Linked DNA regions of Homo sapiens: region 1 is linked to region 2. The links are contacts of gene promoters, found by promoter capture Hi-C in human tissues and cell types (Jung and others, 2019). All regions are on one chromosome and are shown on one strand. Each heading gives the region's core, a stretch centred on a gene start or on the middle of the fragment in contact. The rest is flanking DNA. Distances are from core to core; before and after follow the strand shown. Region 1 overlaps FRAS1 (Fraser extracellular matrix complex subunit 1). Region 2 holds the start of PAQR3 (progestin and adipoQ receptor family member 3).

Region 1 (4,804 bases), core at 563-3,062, 870 kb before region 2:
TGTTCTTAATTCCATTACTGGAGGAGAAGGTAGACCAATTCTTTCCTGAGAAGTTAATATTATTGGGACTTCATAAATGATCCATTAGAGGTAAGCACTGTGGTAAAATAATGTCCTTCTCTCTTTAGAAACCAACTGTGTGGAGCATTGTTAAGATATGCTTCACCTTGGTGTGTATATACTGTTCAAATGTGTTTTGCAGACTCAGTTTCTGAGAGAGTAGGTGACAGCACACTGCCCATCTCTTTCTAAGTTAAATCAAGACCTGTTGTGCAGCTCAAAAATTGGTTGGGAATGTGTCTATATTTTTTTTAAGTTAAGATTTCAGTTTTATAGTGTATATATATATATATATATATATATACATACACACACACACACTAAATACTACATATGCTATTTATACTATATATTATATATATACTATATATAGTATATAGTGGGTATATATGTATATATATGTGTATATATGTGTATATACTATATATGTACTATATATGGTATATAGTATATAGTGGGTATACATGTGTATATATATGTATATACTATATATGTAATAGTATATATGTAATGGTATATATAGTGTATATATTCTCTCTATATGTAGTACACACACACATATATATAATGTAGTGGGGTAAATACAACATTTCAACATCCTTAGAAAGGAAATACACAAGAATAAATTCACAAATGGAGGATGTAGGCACAAAATGCTAGGAGCTCAGAGGAGCATAATCTGGTGGGCAGAAGTTTCACAAAGGAGATGGGATCAAGTTCAAAGAGCTTGACTAGACAAAGTACATCTCCTGTAGAAAATGAAAATGAGCAAAGGCATTGAGACATGTAAATATATTACAGGATTCTAAGTTGGCCTCTTGGGTTGGACTGGAGGCTTAGTGTAAGCAAACAGTGGCAGGGAAGCCTGGATAAGTAAATGGGACTGGATTATGGAGGCTTTGCTGACTTATCACCAAGAAAAATATTTACTGTATTTATAGCATGTCGTTATAAACACATTTATCTTAAAATTCAAGTCATAAGTTTTAATGATGCTTTTCCTCATGTGTGTCCAAGGAATGTTGTTTTGGTGTATGGGGTTATTTCCCCAGGGGAAGAATGCTGAAGCTTTTAAGATTTTGGAAGAAGCTCATTTTCCTGGTTATGATGCATATAGATGCAGTTTTAGCAGCAAGCTTGCTGGGGCAGTGCCTATTGGTTTATTATGCATCCCTTTTAATTCTTGTTTTGTTTTTCCCCACAGGTGCTTGTGTCTATCAGGATTCCTTGTTGGCGGTAGGTCATTCTTTACATACTTGGTTTCTGTCATTTGAATGTAAAATGCTTGATTGAAGTTCCTGAGTGAGTGAGTTGACCCTATCATTGTAGAATATGTTTATTTTTCTTCAACGTTTGACAATTAGCCCTCATTCGGGCACAATGATGCTCAATTATTTAATACCTTTTCCAGAGTGAATTAGTTCTATTCAGATACTCAGGTATTGGAAGAGAAATTCAAACACTCAACACACGATTTACATTCTGTGGCTGTTCTTTGTGTTCTTTTAATCAGAGAGAAAATTAGATCCCATCCTTTTGTCAGATACAAACTGAAACACAATTTTTTAACTTCTGGTTGCATTTGCTTCCCACTTTGAACCCTTCTCCAAAAAAAGTATGATTATTAAATTAAGTAGAATAGGAAGGATTTCTGTTGTTACTTTGAATTATAAACTTAAGTTTTGGTGAACAGCAAAGAAATTAACATTTATTTCTGAACTCTTGCCATATAGGGTAAAATTGATTTTGAATTTAATGTCAGAATGACTTGGGGGAAAGGCTGATGTAAGTCTCATGCATTTCTTTTCATTACTAATGCACTATGGTGCATAACAGTGTGTTAAAGCCTTATTGAAAAGACTGTCTACACTCCATCAACTCTAATAAATGGTGTGACAAATCATTCTTCACCATGTTTTTATTTTGGTTTAATAAATGCTATAATAAAACTGAACTGAGATGGTTGGAAAGAATTTGCTCATTTACATCACAACCTGCTATTGACATGTGTGATATTGATAAGTCATCCTGGATTATCCTTGTGGTATTGAAATAGCTGAGGAATATCTGAAGTATCTTAGAGTCTAGATAACTGTAGATATTCACCATAATATCCTTGAATCTGCACTTTATATACTGTAGTTACTGCTGGAGAAGTTTATTTTTTAAATATTTTTCTATCAAAAATTAGGAAAAAGCCATTTTTATTGTATTTGTCATTCCATATCCTGCCCTGTTTATTCTTTAATATATTTTAGGAATCATTTGCTCTAAAATATATTATCACTTTTGGGGAGCTACAGTAGATATTTAGACAAGTCAGTTATCCGTGCTAATAAAAGAGAATTATTTATTGTGTAGAGTACTTCATAACTTTTCCATATATTTTCATAAGTATTCATATGTCTGATACTTATAATAGACCAATGAAATAGGCAGGCCATGTATCATTCCATACTCTTTCCCCTTTTAATGGAAAAGATGAGAGAGAGAGATGAAGAGATTTGCTAGAGGTAATTCACCATTAGTGGTGGACCAGAACAAGACATCCTGTCTTCTTCTGTTGTTCTGCCTATATGTGAAAAAAAGTGGCTAGACCATCTTCTATATTTAACTTTGCTATGTGTTATTGTACATTTGAATATGAAAGGATCAAGTAATTGGAGAGGTCAGTTTGATCAAGTTAAAAGGAGAAACAGCCCAGCCAACTTGAATTTATTGGATGACCTTGCTTCCCTCTGTACCATGCCCTAGCTGATCCCAGGGCTCATGGCTGCTCAAGATTAGTGGGCTGCACCCTCCCACACCAGCACGCTCCTCATTCTTCCAGGTGACTTCTTTGCTTACCAAGGCTCTGCTACATTTGTTTCTTTTTCTTTTTTTTTCTTTCTTTTATTATTATTATTATTATTATTATTATTATTATTATTATTTGTAAGATAGGGTCTCGCTCTGTCACCCAGGCTGGAGTGCAGGGATCTTGGCTCACTGCAACCTCTGCCTCTAGGGTTCAAGTGATTCTCCTGCTTCAGCCTCCCAAGTAGATGGGACTACAGCTGCACACCACCACACCCAGCCAATTTTTTTTTTTTTTTGTATTTTTAGTAGAGACGGGGTTTTGGCATGTTGGCCAGGCTGGTCTTGAATTCCTGATCTCAAAGTGCTGGGATTACAGGCATAAGCCACTGAGCCTGGCCTGCTACATTTGTTTCTGAACCTCTTCAAGCCTGAGATACTTGTTATTGTAGTTATGCAATTCAGTCTGAGAGACAATATATTTATTACAATAATAAAATTATTAAACAAATATTTATTGAATGACAATTAGAGACCTGCTATTCTATGCACTGGAATGCATCTGTGAACAAACAGATGAAAATGCCTGCCTTCATAGAGCTTGAATTCTAATAAGTAAAATATATAGAATGTCAGATAGGTGGGCTATGGGGAAAAATATTGTGGAGGTGGAACGGATAGAAAAGGCTCAATAGGGGATGAAGGTGGCTACTTTAGATAGGGTGATAGGGAAGGCTTCACTGAGAAGGTGACATTTGATCAAAGACATACTGAAAGAGGTAATTATAAGGAGCTAGCCTGGTGGATACCCAAGGGGAGAGAATTCCAGAGATAGGGAGCAGAAATGTAAAGTCTGAAGCAAGAGCTCCTATGGGCATTTGAGGCAGTGCATGGAGGATGGCAAGAGATAGGTCAGGGAGGATGGCAGGGGTCAGAGCATGGTGAGCCTTGTGCAGACTTTAGCTTGTCCTTTCAGGAAGGTGGATGAGCCATTGGAGGTGCCAGAGAGGAGGAATGGCAACACTGGACTTATCATCTAATTAAACTGCTGAAATGAGAGTGTGCTTGTTTCCAGGGAAACTATATTAAATACTTTAAAAAGACTCCATAGGGGTGAGTCACTAAAAAATTTCTGTCAAATTAAGTGTAGGAAAAACAGCTGTACAAGATTGAGAAAATATTTCAAAATCTAGAGAGATTCTGCATTCGGGTTTATTTGTAACCACTTTAAGTTCTCTTTCCATTTTAAGGACAATGAAACTGGAAATGGTAGATGATGCATTGTGGACTTGGTTTATTATCTACATCATTCACTGCTGCTCTCTCTCCACATGCCCTAGCGTTAAAGAAAAGCATTGTGTCTACATCAGTGAAATTGGAGAGTGAATGTATGTTCATGTATTTTGAATTGAAGGGTTCAAGAACATTACTATATGATTCTAGGATTCTCTGATTATACAACTTTTTGGGTGACAAAGGCTTCTAGTGTAAGAGGCGTCATTTTCAAGAGCTGGCTCTGAGAATAGTGATTGGTGTCCCTGTTCCAAACTTTGTAATTTTACCCACATGCTCACTGTTTTAGAGGTAGAAGTGACTTGAGAAATCTCTTAGTCCAGACTGTCCATTTTATGGATGAGGAAACTGGGGCAGGGATGTTAAATTCTTTAGGTTTGTTCATCTCCCAGGTGAGTAACCAGAAGTAGGTTATTCTGGTTGAAAATGGCAAAGCCTCAGCTTCACCCAGAGTTCATAAAGCATATCAAGCAAATGAGAGCATGGATTTAGGCACTTGCTGCTAGTATTACGCTAACTCTCAGCCTGTCTTGTGAGGATTCCTCTCACTGATTCCTTTCAATCTCTTCACTCATTGCTTAGGAAGCTGCCAGATACAGTGGAACAGTCATGGCCCTGGCGGTCAGACACACCTGGTTTTGACCCTTCCTCTTCT
Region 2 (5,016 bases), core at 1,947-4,446:
GACTAAAGATTAAAATACTCTTGCATTTGTCTGCAAAATCTCGTATTTTTGCTTAAATTTAGGTTTTTGGTCTTCACTGATTCAGAAATCCTTGACATAATGACATTGACATATAACTCTAAATTTGTAGCAGTCACTGTGGTTCTCAGGTTCTCATTTTTACAAGAAATGGAATTTCCTATTTGCTTTGCTTCTCAACTTCATTTCTTGTAACAATGAAAGTGAGAACCATAGTGACTGCTACAAATTTAGTTATACGTCAACGCTTACTAGTAAGGATTTCTGAATCAGTGAAGGCCAAATACATGATGTATATAGCAAGGTGTCAAAACTATCAAATGATCATCAAAAATAAAGTGAATCTTGGATCATGAATTTCAGGCTTTATCATGTACAAGCATCAAGTGTAAAGACTACTTATAACTGGAGGAAGGGATGCACGAATGTGCTTGAAACATCTAACTACAGGACTGTTTTGACAATCAGTACTATGCTCTGCTTATTACTTCAGAACTTTTCTTTTTGTGAAATCCAGTATAACCTGACTAACTGAACTGAGAGGCACCACCTCTCCATGTTCCCTGCAGCTAACAGAGGACTGGCAAAACTGCTATGACATACAAAACCTCCTCAGATTACATCCAAAATCTGTCCCCGTCACTCCTGAAAGCCAAAAGGAGAGAGGGCAAAGGCTAAACTTGGAAAAGATAAGGCTGGTGGGAAGGCAAGAACATCTCCAATAAAGAATCTACTCTTACTGTACGAAAAGTTAGGTGTCTCCTGCACAGTAGACACACCTGACAGCAGTATCTTAAGCATACCCTGAGAATGACCCTATATGAAAAACACACTTGAATGTGTGTTTACAATTCCAAGCACGGCCAACCCTTAGACTGATTCCTTATCTATGAGGAACATCTGAGCCCCTGTCCCATCTCATGGAATGCTGACTGTACATGGGATGGAGGCCTTTTGTTTTGCAAATGAAGATTACCAGATGGAGGTTGTTAGGGGGAAGGGTGCTAAGTAAAAATGCTATTTAAACTGCATGCTTTCTGCAGGCGGCAGAGGTTCTCCCGTTCAGGCCACTGTCACTGGACCTCTCTGTAAATTACCCTAGTAAAACCCTATGTCTTGTTTACTGGCTTTGGGTCTCTTCTTCCGTCTTTCGAACCTGGTGCCATCCTTATTGAAGTTAACAGGAGTCCAGCACCACATCTTCGTATTCTGTTCAGTTTTAAAATCAAATAATCATCTTCATTATCATCATCTGTTCAGCTTCACAACCACTGGTGATGACAACAATCACCATTTATTGACGGCTTATTAGGTTCCAGGCCATGTATAGCATTTCACACACAGAATCTTACTGAATCTTTTTTTACCTCTGGAAGCAGATACTGTGATTACCCTCATTTTTATATGTGGGTATAATGAGGCTCAGTGAGGTTACATTTTGCTCCAGGTCTCAGAGCTGTTAAGTGGCAGATTTGGATACTAAAGTCTTTGACTCAATAGCTCAAGAGCTAATGCTCTATACTTAATTTTCCACTCCATGAGATTTGGACCCTAACATCAGAACGCAGAAGACCACTGCTAGTTGAGTAGAAAATATTTAAGGCAATTCACTGCTTGCCCTATTCTTGTGGAACTCCAGATCCACAGCAGAACTCAGCTGTGTAATTTACTCATGCACAGGAGGCACTGGGGAGGAAAACGGTAATTACGCTTCAAGTTGTGAATCCTAAGGGCCATCCATTCAAGCCAAGTAGGGATGGGCAGTGATGTCACCTTGTGACCATGAGTCACAGAAACACTTTCATGGCAGGACAAAAGGAAAGAAGGGCAGGAAAAGACAATGCTGGAAAAATCAAGAATCAGACATGTGGTTGCCGCTTGAGCAATTCAACAGCCCACATTCTGGCACTAGGGTTTGCCACTACAGCGACCTGGAGCTAACCAACACCTGTATCTTAATTCTCCTGAAGCAGAGGTCCTGTATTTTAGTACAGGTAGTAAGTTTGGACAGTTACTCCAAGAACTAGAATAGTTATTTTTCAGTTTTGTTTTTTTAAAACACGGATTTTCAAGGGACTGTGGTTTTAAAGGTTTAAAATGATAAAGAAATTTCTTTCTTAGAGATGCTTCTGTGGTGCTCTAGTGGAGACTGGGTGCCCGTTATGAGCTCTCTTTACCACAGTACTTTTCCTACACAGCATTTTTTCCACAATGGTTATTATGTAATTGTGTAATTATCTATTTAATGTCTGTTACCCAGGCTACACCTTAGTAGCTTCATGAAAACAAGGGCCATGTTTGCTTTTTTTTCTGCATGGGCTCCATAAGTATTTGCCAAATGAATAAATCTCGGGTGTATATGTTAACTTGTTTCCTATTATACAGGCACTTATCTGGCCCAAAGCTACTGAATTCCCACAGTGTTGCTCTAAAAAGAAAGGTATACACCGGGCAAATATGGCTCAGCCCCATTTCAATATATATCTCAATGAGCCGAACAAACCGAATAAAGGATGTAAAAGCCCTTTGTAAAGAGCAAAGCGTCATAGGAGAGCTGTAATTATGATCACTGTTACTATCATGATTATTCCGTGGACCAAGTACCCCGGCCAGGTAAGGGGAGATAACGGGGGAGGAGAGGCGGCAAAAAGGGATGAAAAGGATGGGGCGGCGAGGAAATGATGGGCAAGCAGAAAGGCGGGGAAAGCAGAAGGGGGACCAGACAAAAAGGGTGTAGGTGAGAGAAGGGGGCACTCCAGGCGGAGGCAGCCAGACCGTACCTTTTGATACACAGCCTGGACGGCAGGTAGGCCCGGTAGCCGTCGGTGATGTACGGGTTGTCCTTGAGGGACCCGGGGATCTGCTCGTAGGTGTACAGGCGGATGCCACGGGGCACCAGGACCGGCCAGTACTGGTAGCTGCCCAGCTCGATGTAATGCGCGCTCTTCAGCAGCTTCTGATGCATCGTTCCCGGCCGCCGCCGCTCCCCGGCTCGGGAGCTCCCCCAGGTCCCGCCTCCCCGGGGAGGGGGCTTCGCCGCTGGCGCCCCCGCCCCGGAGCCCGCGGACGCTGCGCGAGGTCCTACCGCGCTGCCGCTGCTGCCCAGGGCCCGGCTCTGCGCTCACACCGGCCACTGCCGCCAGCGCCGCGGCGGACCCGGCAGCGTCGCAGCCTCCTCTGACGTCAGCGCGCCGCGGCGGCCCCGCCCCTCAGCCCTAGCTGGGAGGGGCAGGGTGCTGGGGCGCGCCCGGGTGTGCTCGAGCGTGCGCTGGCGGCGGCCCGGGCTCCCGGGCGTCTCTCACGCTGTGTTTTGGCGGCGCCTGGGGTCTTCGTTTGCATATGAGAAGAGCCGAAAGCACAGAGCTACAGGCGAATACAAGTGGATTTTTTTTCTTTTTCTGTTTTTTTATTAGAAGTAATAGTTGCTGCATTTTGAAAAATCAAGAGGAAAAGAGTTAACAGGAAGAAAAGTTCGAGGTAATTACCGTTTAGTTTATGCTTGGAATTACACACACTTAGTGTCAGAAGGGACTTTGAGGATTTCTAAGCTGAAGTCAGCTCTTAGCACGATAATTGGAAAGAGAGGAAACCTGATGCACGTGGAACATACACCAGCATCGAGCACATCCTGAGCCATAAAGGAAAGCCCCCGTGCATTCAAAACTCCGACCCCTTTCAGCGTTATGTTCTCTGATCACAGTAGAATTAAACTAGAGTAACAAGAAAACTAAAAGTCTCCACGTCTGGAATAGGAGCAATACACCAAATATTTCAAGGGCTGATGAAGAAATCACAATGGAAATGAGAATATCTACTTAACTGAATAATATAGAACATATTAAAAAATCCTGTGGAGTGCGGCTATAGTAGCGTTTACAGGAAGTGTTGCAGCTTTGTTTCTGGCTATTTACTGTAATGCAAGTGTTTACTTATAATGGCAACAGGGCAAAACATCAGTTTGAGTACCGTATGTGTATAATAGAACGCTTAGTCCATTGTTTGGCATTGTAAGGGCAAGAAAAATATCTTGTCCTCACTTATCACAAGGTTCACAGCTGACATTCCTATGAAAAAAATTAAGAGAAGCCAGGCGCAGGTGGCTCATGCCTGTAATCCCAACATTTTGGAAGGCCGAGGCAGGCGGATTGCTTATGCCCAGGAGTTGGAGACCAGCCTGGGTAACATAGTGAGACGCTGTCGCTACAAAAAAAACCAACCAAACAAACAAAAAACAAAAATTAGTCGGGTGTGGTGATGGGCGCCTGTAGTCCCAAACTATTCTGGGCTGAAGTGAGAGGGTTGCTTGAGCCTGGGAGGTCGAGGCTGCAGTGAGCCATGTTTGTGCCACTGCACTCCAGTCTGGGTGACAAAGCGAGACTTTGTCTCAAAAAATAAATAATAAAAATTAACAAGAAAAGGGATAATAAATTCATTTAACACAGTTTTATGTGACAGAGGAGTCTTCAGAAATGAAGACACAAAGACCCAGGAAAAAATGGGCTTTTTATGCTAAGTCTGATGAAAGGAGTGGATAGTTGTGGAGAAACATGATTGAAAGGGGGCATCATCTAATGATAATAAACTGAGGGGGGATCCTAGCTAGCAAGGCCAGTTCATTCAAATTCTTGGCCTCAGAGTATGGGGCAGGAACTCTCTAGAATGAGGGTTTTATGACCTAGTTTCAGGTGAGGTAAGTCAGAACTCCTTTGTGACCACGGAAAGGCAGGGACAGTCAGAAAGTAACCTTACTAGATTTTTTGTTGTTGTTGTTGTTGGGGGAAGACAGAGTCTCACTCTGAAGCCCAGGCTGGAGTGCAGTGGCACAATCTCGGGTCACGCAATCTCCACCTCCCGGGTACAAGCAATTCTCCTGCCTCATCCTCCCGAGTAGCTGGGACTACAGGCACCCACCACCATGCCCGGCTAATTTTTGTACTTTTCGTAGAGATGGGGTTTCACCATGTTGGACAGGCTGCCCTTGAACTCCTGACCTCAAAC

Evidence for each region. Contacts are between HindIII fragments. The study calls those that stand out against the background at their distance.
Region 1: a fragment that was not itself captured here is called in contact with the fragment with the promoter of PAQR3 in region 2 in 1 of the 25 tissues and cell types used here (stomach).

Annotation. Positions count from the first base shown.
Region 1 is chr4:78,064,721-78,069,524 of GRCh38, forward strand. FRAS1 (Fraser extracellular matrix complex subunit 1) reads left to right here. Exons shown (of 74, transcript NM_025074.7): 2 at 1,265-1,296. LOC107986293 (a long non-coding RNA gene) reads left to right here and starts at 3,186. Exons shown (of 2, transcript XR_001741746.1): 1 at 3,186-3,969. The HindIII fragment of the contact is 3,741 bases long and covers 1-3,683 here.
Region 2 is chr4:78,936,242-78,941,257 of GRCh38, forward strand. It overlaps PAQR3 (progestin and adipoQ receptor family member 3), which reads right to left and starts at 3,197. Exons shown (of 6, transcript NM_001040202.2): 1 at 2,799-3,197. The coding sequence starts at 2,983. RefSeq lists silencers at 2,727-2,796, 2,887-3,376. The HindIII fragment of the contact is 22,278 bases long and covers 1-5,016 here.